Regions from separate parts of the Homo sapiens genome. Here all the other regions are linked to region 3. Evidence: promoter capture Hi-C in human tissues and cell types (Jung and others, 2019). All regions are on one chromosome and are shown on one strand. The core of a region is centred on a gene start or on the middle of the fragment in contact, and the rest is flanking DNA. Distances in the headings are between cores, read along the strand shown.

Region 1 (2,700 bases), core at 26-2,525, 1.1 Mb before region 3:
CTGGGTGCAGTTGGCTCCTCCTCACTGGCTGCTCTGCTCAAGGCTAGGCTTGGACCCATAGCATAAGTCCTAGAGCCAAACCTCCTGGCCCTGACAGAGGCTGCCCTCTCTCCACTTTTGCTGCATGTCCCTGTTAACACAACCTCAGCTACAGTGGCTTCTTTTGTGGCTACCTGGCACTGTGTTGAATCTCATTTATGAGGCCACACTCCTCTGTCCACCCAGCCACCCACCCAGCACAGCCTGGCCCAGTCAACACTGACTTGCCACCAGCAGCTCAACTCAAATGCACCTGCTTGGGGAGGCCGGTGCCAACTCCTCAGGCAGGGTCACCCCTCCTTTTGCTCTCCCCAAACTCCCAGCATGCCTCCTTGACAGCAGTATCCCACTGAAGTGGCTGGATGGACCCCTTGCTCTCTCACCAGCCTGCAGGTTCCATGAGGCCAAGACCAGCTGTCTGTGGGCACCATCACATCACTGCAGAGGCTGGCACAAACTCTGCCCTCAGCTGTTTGTTGCATGAATGACTTACATGCCTGAGCCCCTGCCCTGTGCCAGGCCTTGTGCTGGATGCTGGGAACATGAAGACCAGTTGTAGATGCTGGTAGGGGAGACAGCCAAGTAAACACACAGGGACAATGCAGGGTGCAGAGTGCGGTGACGAGGAAGCACAGGGGCTGGGGGGCACTGAGGGGGTCCCCGGACCTCACTGGAGGACCAGAAGGGCCAGAATTTGCCAGCTGGGAGTGGTGGTGGAGAGGACTCTGAAAATGAATGTGAGGAAAATCCGCCTCCTCCAGCCTCCCCAGGGCAGGTCAAGAGTATTGGTCGCTGCTCTGCATTTGAAAAGTGGCTTTAGTTGATTAGGTTTCTTTCCCCTCTTGGAATGTGGCTGCTCTGACTTGCTCCTCACTGCATTCCTTGCATCCTCTTCTCTCAGCCCTGCCTTCAGGACATTGCCCACAAAAGTTTCATCTTTTCCCACCTGGGCTCTACTCTCCCTCTCCCACCCCCTCCATGGTTCTATGTCCCTCACCTTCCTGGCTTTCAGCTCATTCACCCAGCTCTGGCCGTCTCAATGCGTGGGTGCCAGCCTGCACCCTCTTTACATGAGCTTTGTTGATTTCATAACCATAAATAGATAAAATGTTCTGAATGCTTTCATGTGCAAGTAGAATTGAGGGAGTGATAGCATAATGAAAAGGCCTCAGGAAAAGGAAAACAGCTTGCTAAGATGCAGCGGAAGACAACACGGTCACTGCACAAGCCAGCTCTGCGTGGGTTTCCTATTCTCACTGCACTGACCGCGGAGCCATGGACGCAGGATGGGGAGGTGCTTAGGAATCTGTTAGAAAACCTTTCCCTGGTTTCAAATCCACCAATTCAAAAGAACAACCTAGAAAAAAAACAGTAGAAGTCAGGAAAACCTGGGTTCAATTGTGGATTTATCTCATTCTAGCTGTGTGATCCTAGGCAAGTTAATCAACCTCTCTGAGAAGGCATAGAGAGATTCTTCCCCCCTGGGTCAGACTGGAGGCTTCGGGAGGCCCAATATCCCACAATACCTTCCTTTTCCTCCCATATGTAAATTTTGTCTTCCTGACAATTCGTTAATCACCAGCCCTGAGACCCCCCTGCCCAAAATGCAGTCCTGAAGACTAGGGTCGGAATAGGGATGGAATGGGGTACCCTGCCTCCTCATTGCCTGTTCCAACTCCTGGTGCAGGAAGTGGAGCATCATCCTGCATGGGGAGGGTACATCTCCACAGCCACAAAAGGGGCTGGAAACCAATAAGGAGCCTGACCCATTGGGCTTCCCACCTCTCCTCCTTTAAGTTGTCCAGGAGCACTACTTCTCCATGGCCTTTGGAACAGTAAAGGGGGCTGAAATGATAGCTTGGTATACCCTGGGTTAAGAGAGCTTTCTGGGTGAGAAAGAGAAACAAGTGGAGATATTCCTGGTGTGAACTCATCCTCTGGTCTAAGGATGGCACGCTTTTTCTCTAAAGGATCAATTAGTAAAAAGTGTCAAAAAGTTCTTTAGGCTTTTTGAACCATATGGTCTCTGTTGCAACTACTCAGCTCTTCCATTGTAATGTGAAAACAGCCATAGACAATGAGTAAATGAATGAATGTGACTGTGTTCCAATAAAACTTTATTTACAAAAGGAGGCAGCAGGCTAGATGTGGCTAGATTTGCAGTCCATAGTTTGTAAACCCTAGCCCTATCACGTGGTGCAAAAGAGAAAGCTTGGGTTGGGAGCAGGAACTAGGGGTGAGGCTCAGCATTGCCAGACTTGCTGTGTGACTTTGATTAAGTCATTATCTATCTCTGAGCCTTTGTTTCACCATCTATCAAATGAGCATCATAATATCAGTCAAGGCTGGGTGTCGTGGCTCACACGTGTAATTCCAGCACTTTGGGAGGCCAAGGTGGGAGGATTGCTTGAGGTCAGGAGTTCAAGACCAGCCTGGGCAGAAAAAATTTTTTTAAATTATCTGGGTGTAGTAGTTTATGCCTGTAGTCCCAGCTACTCGAGATCCTGACACAGAAGATCATTTCAGCCCAGGAGTTTGAGGTGGCAGTGAGCTATGATCAGGCCACTGCACTCTAGTCTAGATGACAGAGCAAGACTGTATATAAATAACAATAATGATATCAGCCAGATTTGTCGTGAGAATGTGTCTAACAGGCCAGAG
Region 2 (2,700 bases), core at 93-2,592, 1.2 Mb before region 3:
TTGAGAAGAAAAACCACAAGACCCAGGCAGCAGCTCCCTGTGGTGCCCCATCACTGGGGAGGGCAGGGAGGGGGTCAGGTCATGCTGAGCCTGGCAAGGGTGGGAAGGGCTTGTAGAGGCCCCAGAGCCTCATTCCCATGAGGCCAGTTGTACATCCGGCCCCTGGGATCCTCCGAGCACCCTCTACAAACATTCCAGGTCCTTCCTCTGGGACTGAGCTTGACACATCCCGTGTTTGATTCCCAGAACCGAGTCCTCCCTTATACTCCCCAGGTTTCTGCCTCACTGTCCCTCACTCCTGGTTATCAAACTCCAATCAGTGAACAACATTTATTGAACACCTATGGCATTTGTGCTCAGCATTGGACTGTGTGAGGCACTAGGGGTGAGTGGTGAAACAGGGAGGGGAATAGAAGAGCCAACGGGACACTTCCTATCAGCGAGAACCTTGGGAGGGCGTGGAAGTGGGGAGGGAAGAGCTGCTGGTGGCCTAGTGACAAAAAAAATGGGAGCCGTGCAACTGGGCTGTATCTGGACTGCTCATCTGAAAGTCAATGTCTGGCTGGGTGTGGTAGCTCACGCCTGTAATCCCAGTACTTTGGGAGGCCAAGGCGGGCGGATCACCTGAGGTCGGGAGTTTGAGACCAGCCTGGCCAACATGGGGAAACCCCGTCTCTACTAGTAACACAAAAATTAGCCAGGTGTGGTGGTGCACACCTGTAGTCCCAGCTACTCGGGAGGCTGAGGCAGGAGAATCACTTGAACTGGGAGGCGAAGGTTGCTGTGAGCCGAGATGGCACCACTGCACTTTAGCCAGAGCGACAGAGCAAAACTCCATCTCAAACAAACAAACAAACAAAAAAACCCAAAAAGCCAATGTCCACGATTTCTACCTCCCAGTTGTCATGTCTGACATTTGGGCTGACGTCCCCTCTGTGCTCAGTGCCCGAGGAGAGAGCCTCTGGGGTCATCCTCCATAAGGGGACAATTCCTTCCTTCCTGGGGATGGCCCCCAAGAGGCTGGCCTTACCCAGACCCCAGAATCTAAGGGACCTGGGGGCCAGTGGCCTTGGCCCCTGCGCTGTCCCCAGGTTGCCTGATGCTGCTGGACTGCAAGGCCCGGGACCCCCTCTGCTGCTGCAGCCTTGGAGGCGCCCTCACCCCTGGGTGGTCACCCTCTCGGCAGATTCCCGGGCCGTGCACACCCCCTCGTGGTTGGTGGTCGGCACTTTTCCTTGTTTGGATTTGCTGCCTGCTCTGGGCTTCCTTGGGGGCTGCCCCGGCCTTTGTGGGTGGCTTAGAATGGAGGGTGGAGTTGGAACCTGATGCCCTGGTTTGGGCGGGGGAACCCTTAAGGACTTGCTATATGACATCCTGGGAGTCACTTTCCTGACCCTCAGTGGGCCCAACAAGTCATGGCCAAGTAAAGCTTTTGTGAGGGCCAAGAGTTTAGTGCAGAGAGCATGGTTTCTGAGCCCCCTCTCCATTCTGGAAGCTTATCTGCCAGCTGGTGGATCTCCCCAGAGATGCTGGAGGGCCTGGGAGGACTCCAAATCTTGGGGAGAGACTGTAACTTGGGTACTTTCTCCCCAGGGCCTGATTTCCAGGGGAATAACCTCCCTGAACTGGGCATCAGCAGGTGGGAGCCCTGTCTGGCAGAGAGCGGACTCCGGGAGAGAGTTAGCAGCCCAGCTCTCTCCCTCCCTTTCTGCCATGAGCTCTGCTTGTAGCAAAATCACCCATTTTGATCACTGGGACACTTCTGGGAGCCGAGCAGGGCAGCAATAGTGTCCCCACTTTACAGATGAGAGTACTGAGGCTTGCAGGTGCAGGTCCTTCTGGTGTCCAGGACAGGGGTGGGCCCCAAGCCTTTGCTGCTGTTCTGTGGCCTCTCTAAATCCTCCTGACACCTAAGAGCCATTGGAACCTTTTAGGGTCTGGAAGTCCCAGCCTGGTGGGAGATACTTGGGTGGAGCCCTGCCTCAGCCATGCCCATGAGGGGAAGGGTAAAAGGAGCTGAGACCGTCACCCTCCCCACGTCAGAGGTTGGGCATCTGTCGGATTCGCCCCCACTTGGCACACCCTCATTGCAGGCTGGCTCACCCTCAGCTGGGGGAGAAGAACAAGAGGCAAGGGGCCTTGGGCACACAGTCTGGGGGCCCCCGAAGCCCCCTCATCTTTATTCCAGTTCCTCAGATGTGGCAGTTCCCCCAGCTTCCCTGGAAACAAGTATCAGACAAAGGTGGTGGCAGACACAGGACAGGGCCCTGGGTGGGGCTTGCTGGCGCTAAAAGGATTTCTCAGCAGGCTCAGGGTCTCCCGCCCCGAATGACCCTTCTGGCCACTTCAAGCTACTCCTCTGCTGCCCGGCTTCCCTCTGCCTCTGGTTCCCCTGGCTGAGCAGGGCCTTCCTGGGCTTGACCCTGGCCCCCTTCAGCAGTTGTCTCAGACTGTTCCCGAATGTCCCTGGGGCTGGCTTTGACCCCAGCATCCCCATCTCCCTGGCACCCTTGCTCCTCCCCTCTGCTTCTTGCCTCTGACTGCCCACTGCCCTCCTCCTCTGTCACAGCCCCCTGGGTCTCAGGCCACTCCGCCCGGCGGTAGACGAGGTAGCCAGTGGTGGGCAGCCTGTGGGCCAGGGCCCCAGGGGGCAGGCGGTGGTAGCCCTGCTCCTTGTACAGGAAGAGGCCAAAAGTGTTG
Region 3 (2,857 bases), core at 186-2,685:
TTATTTCACTTAGCATATTGATGCTTTTTTTTTTTTTTTGAGATGGGGTCTCACTCTATCACCCAGGCTGGAGTGCAGTGGTGCGATCTTGGCTCACTACAACCTCCATCTCCTGGGCTCAAGCAATCCTCCAGCCTCAGCCTGCTGAGTAGCTGGGACCACAGGCGTGCACCACCACACCACCTAATTTTTTGTATTTTTGGTGAAGATGGTATTTTGCCATGTTGTCCAGGCTGGTCTTGAACTTGTGAGCTCAAGGAGATCCAGGAGATCCACTTGCCTTGGCCTCCCAAAGTGCTGGTATTAGAGGCATAAGCCACCACACCTGCCCCATACTGATGCATTTTTACATGACATTAGTGAATTCAATTAGCCTAGTATTTTATTTAGAATGTTTCATATCAGCTGGGCGCTGTGGCTCACGCCTGTAATCCCAGCACTTTGGGAGGCCGAGGTGGGCGGATCACGAGGTCCGGAGATTGAGACCATCCTGGCTAACACGGTGAAACCCTGTCTCTACTAAAAATACAAAAAATTAGCCGGGCATGGTGGCGGGCGCCTGTAGTCCCAGCTGCTCGGGAGGCTGAGGCAGGAGAATGGCGTGAACCCGGGAGGCAGAGCTTGCAGTGAGCTGAAATTGTGCCACTGCACTCCAGCGTGGGTGACAGAGCGAGACTCCGTCTCAAAAAAAGAAAAACAAAAGTTGTTTTAGCCCCAAAGTACCTCATTTCTCTTTTCTTTTAATTTAATTTTTTTTTTTTGTTTTGTTTTGAGACAGCATCTCGCTCTGTCGGCTAGCCTGGAGTGCAGTGGCACGAACACGGCCCACTGCAGCCTCGAACTCCTGGGCTCAAGCGATCCTCTCGCCTCGGCCTCCCAAAGTGGTGGGGTTACAGGGCCACCGCGCCCGGCGCTAAAGTACCTCATTTCTATCATTCATCGATTATTCCCTAATATTAATTGGGCACAACTATGACTCATTTCCGACCCCGCAATGGGCTCTCTTGGTCTCCTTCTCCACCTTTCTTTCCCTCTTCCTCTTTTTATTTTTTGAAAGAGGAAGATCCAGGATGCAAGAGTCCCGACAATCATACTAGATATGCGAAAGAGAAAAAGCCGGAAGAAAATACACAAAAATCATAACACTTTGAGGGTGTGGCTTACGGGTGTTTTTTTTTTTTTTCATTTTCCTAACTCTGCAGTGCTGTTATATTCCATCCACAACTTCAAACAAAGTGCCACACGGCCGCAGTCCCAATCAATTCAATGACAATTGTTAGGGACGTCCTCGTCCCGCCCGGCCCGCGGACCCCGGCCCTTCCTCCTTGACAGGCTGGGGTCCAGCCCCGAGACATTCCTAGGCTCCGCCCCCGAGCAGACGCGCGCGCTCAGCCCCAGCGCAGAGAACCAATCACCATCCGTTTCCACGCTCAGTCCCTTTTGGCTTCTGCCCTCAACCAAAATGGCGCTAGCTCGGAAGCTGCCGAGGTGCTAGGAGTTGCCGAAGCAAGTCCGGAAGCTACCGAGCGAGTCCGGAAGTTGCCGAAAGGGAGCAGCGGGGAAGGAGGATGGCGGATATCATCGCAAGACTCCGGGAGGACGGGATCCAAAAACGTGTGATACAGGAAGGCCGAGGAGAGCTCCCGGACTTTCAAGATGGGACCAAGGTTCGTGTCTACCCTACCCTTCTCCCCCTCTGCGGCGTGGTGCGCATGCGAGGCGGGAGGAGGCCTTAGGCGAGAGGTTGCGCATGCCCAGAGGGCAGCGTCCACTGCCCCTACCGCTCACATGCAGAACTCGACGCTGATTGGGCTGAATTTAAGTAGGGGGTGAATTCGGGCCTGTCTGCCCCGCCCCCTGGCTCGGCCTTGTAGCAGCATTGGTGGGGGAGGCCGTCAGTCATCACAAGCGGGTTGGGGTTGGGGGTTGATCTCAGTGCTTGGGCAGACCCCACGCTGGAGGAAACCCAGGGCCGGGAGTGGTCCTCGGGTATCTGGGTTTCAAGGCTCATGATCCTTTGTAGATGGAAGGGCCTTCTGAAAACACTTAGACCAACTGCCGCTGTTTAGAGTGGAAAACCAAGACCCTGGGACGTGCAAAGCCGGAGAACGGGCCCAGAGGTCAGGTCTCCCAGACAGGGACTCTTTAGCAGCCTTCCTGCTGCACTAGGGGCTTGTTGGGACAGATGAGGGTTGGGAAGTAAAGAACCTCCCACTTTTCTCCTTTTTGCCAGGCCCCCAGATCCAGCCCCTCTGCCCGCTTCTCCCCCAACCTACAACTCCAGGCTTCCCTGCTTCTCCTGTAGTTGCCTCCTCCCGGAGTGCTTTTCCCAGCTGCCACTTGTTTGCAGAGTAGGGAACCTCCCAGGGGCAGCCCCTGTGCCCAGCAGAGCAGTCAGGCAGGACATGCACATTGAGCAAATGAGCACATGCCCCCTGGCCAGCACCGTGCCGAATCGGGCAGCTAAGCATCCTAGCCCAGTGCAGTATAAGTGCCCTGAGAGCAGAGGGGAGCTGCATGGCTGGAGTGATCCGCTGTATGAAAAGATATCTTCTCTAAGAAGAGACAGGATGTGTGGTGTGGGTTCATGCCCCCATGTGCTGGGGGGTTGGTGGCGTTGGAAGAAGGGGCTGGCAAGGGGGATCCTGGATGGAACAGACATCAGAAGGAGAGATGTGAACAATGGCACCCCAAGATCAGAAACAGGTGGTGTTAAATAACCAATCGCCAGCACTGATTGAGTGCTCACTATTCGAACATTGTGCTACATGCTTCACACGTTTATTTCCTACAATGTGAGATAGGTACTGTTGTTGATTCCGTTTTACCGATGTGGAAACTGACTTCAGAGATGCAG
Region 4 (2,842 bases), core at 36-2,535, 1.1 Mb before region 3:
ACCCCACATTTCTGCCTTCCCTGAAGAGCCTCCCTGCTGTTTCCTCCTGTGTCCCCAGTGCCTGCTCCACAGTAGATGCACATTAAAAGTTTGTTGAATGAGGCTGGGCACGGTGGCTCACGCCTGTAATCCCAGCACTTTGGGAGGCCGAGGCGGGAGGATCACGAGGTCAGGAGATCGAGACCATCCTGGCTAACACGGTGAAACCCCGTCTCTACTAAAAATACAAAAAAAAATAGCCGCGCGTGGCGGCGGGCGCCTGTAGTCCCAGCTACTCGGGAGGGTGAGGCAGGAGAATGGCGTGAACCCGGGAGGCGGAGCTTGCAGTGAGCCGAGATGGCGCCACTGCACTCCAGCCTGGGCGAAAGAGCCAGACTCTGTCTCAAAAAAAAAAAAAAAAAAAAAGTTTGTTGAATGAATGAGTGAATGAATGAAATTCATGGTATTTCAAAGAAAATCAAACGTTCGATAACCGACTTTTGGGGTGACTGACTCAGGAATAACGACACACAGAGAGGGGTGGCAGCGCCTTTGCTCATTCCAGACCCTGTGGGCTGGTGGCCTTGCCCCTCTGAGATGTGGGCATTGCTGAAGTTCTACTTTCCTAGCCACGGGGGAAGCATTCCCCTCTCCGAGCTTCAGCCCATAATGAGCTCAACGAGGGGTCACAGGTGCGCGGTGAGGAAGCGCCCGCTAAGCTTCATCCAAAGGGCTGGAGGGAGGGGTGCTGGCTGTGGCCACGAGGCTGCCACGCCGCCAGGAGTCTCACCGGGATGGCGGTGATGAAGAAGTTCCAGGGAAGGAGGGTGCCCAGCCCCAGGATGAAGAAGCTGATCCCGACCAGGTGGTAGCTGTGGGGATCGGTGGGAAGGTCACCCCGAGGACGCACCCGCCTCCGCAGGCCCTCCCGCCTCCCAGGCCACCCCCTCCGGAGCGGACTACAACCCCGATCACCCCGGTTCCGGCGGCCGAGGGAGTCGGCTGATGGGAATTGTAGTTCGATCCGGTCTTCTCTGAGCCTCGGAGCGCCTTCAGGGAGCGGGTCTGCAACGCCCCCGGCCACTTGCAACGCACCCGGGCCCACTCACCTGTCCCGCGGGGCGTCTCCTCGCGCCATGGCCGCCGCGGCGGATGCGCCTGGGGTGAAAGGGGCAGAGAAGCCGCACCTGCACCTGCGCTGGGGCGGAGGGCCGCAGACCGGTGGGGCGGGGGGCGGGTCTCCCCAGATTCCGGTGCAGGGCGGCTGGAGTCGCACAGGTAGCCTCGGGCGGATTTCGGCGTGTCTCGCGCTCCGCAGGCTGGGACCTGGGCTCCGCCCCGAGGCGGGGACAGAGGGTCGCGCCACCCGTCTCTCCTTCCCCCACCCGCCTCAGGGACTCGACTCTGGCTCGGGCCCCGCCCCACCTAGGGGCCTGCGGAACCCGCCCGCTCCCCGCACAGCCCCTCCCCGCAGCCCCCCGTCCTCTCCGCGGGGGCGGGTCCCGGATCCCTGCGGCGGAGGGGAAGGCGGGGGTAGGGACGAGGTGTAACCTCACCTCCACCCCCCGCCGAGAGCTCTGTAGGGGCAGCACTGGTGCGGGGCTCTTCCCGCTTCGTCAGCTCCGAGGTGATGCCAGAGCCGCTCCTGCGACCCCTAAAGCTGGAACCCACCGGGGCGCCCCCTAACTAGGGAGCCGCTGCGGAGTCCCCGCCCAGAGCGTAACCCGAGCCGGGCCCGGGCGGGGGAACCAGAGCTGCCACAGGTCGCCCGCGATCCTGGCGGGCTTCGCCGCGCTGGGTCCCCGGGAGTGCCTGGAAAAAAACAGCATTACTTTCAACTCCCTACTCTTTTTCTGTTAAAAAAAAAAATTTGAAAAGACTATAAATCATTAATTTGCTCCTACTCTCATAATCTACGAATAGGTGTGGGTTCTCTGCAATCCCCGGGCGTATCGGGGACGCTGGAGAAGTGAGAGGCTCCAAAACACAAACTAGTTTTTTTGAGACTGAGTGTCGCTCTGTCGCCCAGGCGGAAGTGCAGTGGCGTGATCTTGGCTCACTGCAACCTCCCCCTCCCAGGCAGGTTCAAGCGATTCTGGTGCCTCAGCCTCAGGAGTAGCTGGGACTACAGGCGCATGCCACCACGTCCGGTTAATTTTTGTATTTTTAGTAGAAACGGGGCTTCACCAGCTCTACTGAAGAGGTGGCCAGTCTAGTCTCGAACTCATCTTTTGACCAGGCTGGTCTCGAACTCTTGACCTCAGGTGATCCGCCCGCATCGGCCTCCCAAAATGTTGCTATTACAGGCGTGAGCCACCACGCCCGGCCACAAACTATTTTCTTAAGCAATGACATTTTATAGCCATTCCCAGGTTGCTTATGTTTTTCCTCCAGCCGACTGAGAGTCTGTAGGGGCAGAGGCTGTGCTTATCTGGTCCATTGGTTTACTGGCAGCATCTAGCGCCGTTGAGTGATAAATGGGTGGTTGCAGTAAAATGCAGGTGATTTTAGGGAGAACAGAGACAGCATTAAATTACACCGAAAGAGAAAGTTATTCTTCCCATTTTCTTTCAAGCCTCTGAATATGTCAAGGGTGTTAACAGGTTGCTAACACTTCTTAATCTGCCTTCCCATCCCTTCCCCTCAGTTAGCCTCAGAGGGTCTGCTGACAATTTTATCAAAAGTTATTAACTTGTATTTTTCTTATATTTATTTTTATAGCAACTTTATTTTCAGGGCTACTCATACTGGTTTCCTATTTATGATTATGATATCAACTTTTCTTTGAAAAATCAATTTATTTATGGAAAATGAGTTATTTAAAGAAAAGCGAGGCCGCTGGTGCAGCACAGCTATGGCACAG
Region 5 (2,700 bases), core at 103-2,602, 1.4 Mb before region 3:
CCCAGCTACTCAGGAGGCTGAGGTGGGAAGAGCACTTGAGCTCTGGAGGTCGAGGCTTCAGTGAGCCATGATCTCGCCCCTGTACTCTAGCCTGGGCAACAGAGTAAGACCCTGTCTCAAACAAAAATGGGTGAATAGAGAATGTTCTAAGTCATTACTTTCCTTGTGTTGAGGTAGATGGTGAGGCATAGGTGATAAAATAGTGTTGATGGCAGGTTTGTTTATTTAATTTTGTGCAGATCCTTTTAAATTGTAAGTTTGTTTTTTTTTTTTTTTTGAGACGGAGTTTTGCTCTTGTCACCTAGGCTGGAGTGTAAAGGCGCAGTCTCGGCTCACGGAAACCTCCGCCTCCGAGGTTCAAGCAATTCTCCTGCCTCAGCCTCCCGAGTAGCTGGGATTCCAGGCATGCACCACCATGCATGGATAATTTTGTATTTTTAGTAGAGACGGGGTTTCACCATGTTGGCCAGGCTGGTCTCGAACTCCTGACCTCAGGTGATTCACCTACCTCAGCCTCCCAAGGTGCTGGGATTACAGTTGTAAGCAACCATGCCTGGCCAACTGTAAGGTTTTTAAGGTACAACAAAGGTTGGAATATTTGAGTTTAGTGCTAGCTTCAACAATTTTTCTGAATCTCAAATATCGTTCTTCCTCTTTTCTCCTTGTGAGTAATGATCTGTGTCCACTCTCAGATCAACCTGGGCTCCCTTCATCCTTTCAACACTTTCAGTACTTTTAGTTTTGTAAATACAGTGGTATCCACAGGTCATTTTGGCAAAAACACTTTTTAGAACTGTATGCGTCTTAGAAATTGTGATGTGGGTAATTTGCTGTGTATGTTTTTTAGTGACCTCGTATAAATATAGGTAGATGTGAAAGGAGTGACGCCTTAAATTTGCTCCCTACTGTAACACCTGTTCCCTTCTTTGTAGTCTGTGTAACTCCTCCAAATGACAGATCTTTTGGACACATTAGTGGTTATGTGATTTCTTTCTAAACTAGTTTTCCAAACTACCTCTCAAAACTTTATTATGAGTAGGATTTCCCCCAGCTAACATTTTGGGTATGACTGGCATGTTAATTGTCTCTGAAGGATTTTAGACTGGTTATTTTGTTTTTGATTTTGAGATAGGCTCTCACTCTGTTGCCCAAACTGGAATGCAGTGGCATGAACACAGCTCACTCTGTTCAGCCTCAACCTCCTGGGTTCAAGTGATCCTCCCTCCTTAGACTCCCAAGTAGCTGGAACCACAGGCACATGCCAACATGCCCTGCTAACTTTTTAATTTTTTGCAGAGACAAGGTCCCACTATGCTGCCCAGGCTGATCTCAAACTCCTGGGCTCAAGCAATCCTCCCGCCTCAGCCTACCATAGTGTTGGGATTATAGGCGTAAGCCACCGCACCCAGGCTAGGCTGGTTATTGTGCTGAGATATAGGAAGGCGTTTTTTCTTTTCAGCTGTTTTCTTTTCTTTTTCTTTTTGAGACAGAGTCTTGCTCTCTTGCCCAGGCTGGAGTGCAGTGGCGCTATCTTGGCTCACTGCAACCTCTGTCTCCCGGGTTCAAGTGATTCTCCAGCCTCAGCCTCCCAAGTAGCTGGGATTACAGGTGCATACCACCATGCCCGACTAATTTTTGTATTTTTAGTAGAGACAGGCTTTCACCATGATGGCCAGGCTAGTCTTGAACTCCTGACCTCAAGCCCGCGTCAGCAGATTACTGGCGTGAGCCACCGCCCAGCCTCTTTTCAGTTGTTTTTCTGAAACATTGTGTGTGTTTGTGTGTGAGTATGTGCACTTCTGTATCTGTCTGTGAGTTTTCTTTTGTTCCTCTTGGTAGGTGAGACATTCTTTGTAGCAGGTTTTTTTTTTTTTTTTTTAATAGTTTATTGCTGGGAAAAGGTCTGGGTAAAAAAAAAAAAAGTTTAGAACACACTAAGGCTTGGGGCATCAGTCATCATTTACTGATCCCTCCTCACTAACCTTTTCCTGCCTCTTGTTTACAAACACCAAATGGCTTCAGGGTTTAGGGAGCAGCTTTTCCCTTCTGTTTTTCTGTTTTATGGTACCTCTCAAACACATTGCATTGTAATCCCTCCCAACCTCTGCCACCTTAGTCCTTCCCAGAAAGTAACCACTAGTGGCAGTTCAGAGTGATATTTTAAAATGAAAATCAGAACTTGTCACACCCCCTCTATAATCTTCCAGTTCATTCATTCAGCAAAAGCTTATAGACCAGCTGATATGTGCCGCAAGCAAAATCCTTGATCTCATGAAGTCTGCATTCTAGTGGGTGAAGATAAGAGACACCATCCAGTAACTTTCCGTCATACTTAAAAAAGATCCCCTTTTCATGGTTCAGGAGATGCTAAACGATGCAGCCCCTTCCCATGTCTTTGACCTCACCTTTGCGTTCTCCCCTTGTTCCTGCGGTGGGTCACCCTCGCCTTAGGGCTTTTGCACTTGCTGTTCCCTCTACCTGTGATACCCTTTCCCTGGATCCTTGGATCGCTGAGACTAGCTCCTGGGTATCATTCAGCTCTTCACTGACCTGCTACCTTGGAAGGCTGTCCTCACCTGCCCAACCCCTTCTGGGAGTTTATAAAGCTACTTCACACCTACTCGCCATTACTGGAAATAATCTTGTTCCTTTATTTAGTTACTTTATAGATGCTCAATAACTACATTTGTCAAATCAATG

What was found. The method cuts DNA at HindIII sites, captures the fragments that hold promoters and counts their contacts. A contact is called where the count stands out against the background at its distance.
Region 1: a fragment that was not itself captured here is called in contact with the fragment with the promoter of AIP in region 3 in 1 of the 25 tissues and cell types used here (spleen).
Region 2: a contact is called between a fragment that was not itself captured here and the fragment with the promoter of AIP in region 3, in 1 of the 25 tissues and cell types used here (spleen).
Region 4: the fragment with the promoter of SLC29A2 here is called in contact with the fragment with the promoter of AIP in region 3 in 1 of the 25 tissues and cell types used here (spleen).
Region 5: a contact is called between a fragment that was not itself captured here and the fragment with the promoter of AIP in region 3, in 1 of the 25 tissues and cell types used here (spleen).

The regions. Positions count from the first base shown.
Region 1 is chr11:66,413,459-66,416,158 of GRCh38, forward strand. It overlaps a transcript of NPAS4 not described here. Among named protein-coding and RNA genes, the nearest start is that of NPAS4, 6.2 kb to the right of the region's middle. RefSeq lists enhancers at 108-626, 627-1,145. The HindIII fragment of the contact is 7,963 bases long and covers 1-2,700 here.
Region 2 is chr11:66,329,925-66,332,624 of GRCh38, forward strand. RIN1 (Ras and Rab interactor 1) reads right to left here. Exons shown (of 10, transcript NM_004292.3): 10 at 317-2,700. The coding sequence ends at 2,352. Among named protein-coding and RNA genes, the nearest start is that of RIN1, 5.2 kb to the right of the region's middle. The HindIII fragment of the contact is 6,220 bases long and covers 1-2,700 here.
Region 3 is chr11:67,481,591-67,484,447 of GRCh38, forward strand. It overlaps AIP (AHR interacting HSP90 co-chaperone), which reads left to right and starts at 1,436. Exons shown (of 6, transcript NM_003977.4): 1 at 1,436-1,667. The coding sequence starts at 1,569. RefSeq lists an enhancer at 1,278-1,337. The HindIII fragment of the contact is 17,225 bases long and covers 938-2,857 here.
Region 4 is chr11:66,370,475-66,373,316 of GRCh38, forward strand. SLC29A2 (solute carrier family 29 member 2) reads right to left here and starts at 1,286. Exons shown (of 12, transcript NM_001532.3): 1 at 1,089-1,286; 2 at 770-851. The coding sequence starts at 1,117. RefSeq lists a silencer at 982-1,741. The HindIII fragment of the contact is 13,916 bases long and covers 1-2,842 here.
Region 5 is chr11:66,077,443-66,080,142 of GRCh38, forward strand. All of the region lies in intron 1 of PACS1 (phosphofurin acidic cluster sorting protein 1), which reads left to right. Among named protein-coding and RNA genes, the nearest start is that of PACS1, 8.5 kb to the left of the region's middle. RefSeq lists an enhancer at 628-747. The HindIII fragment of the contact is 3,642 bases long and covers 1-2,700 here.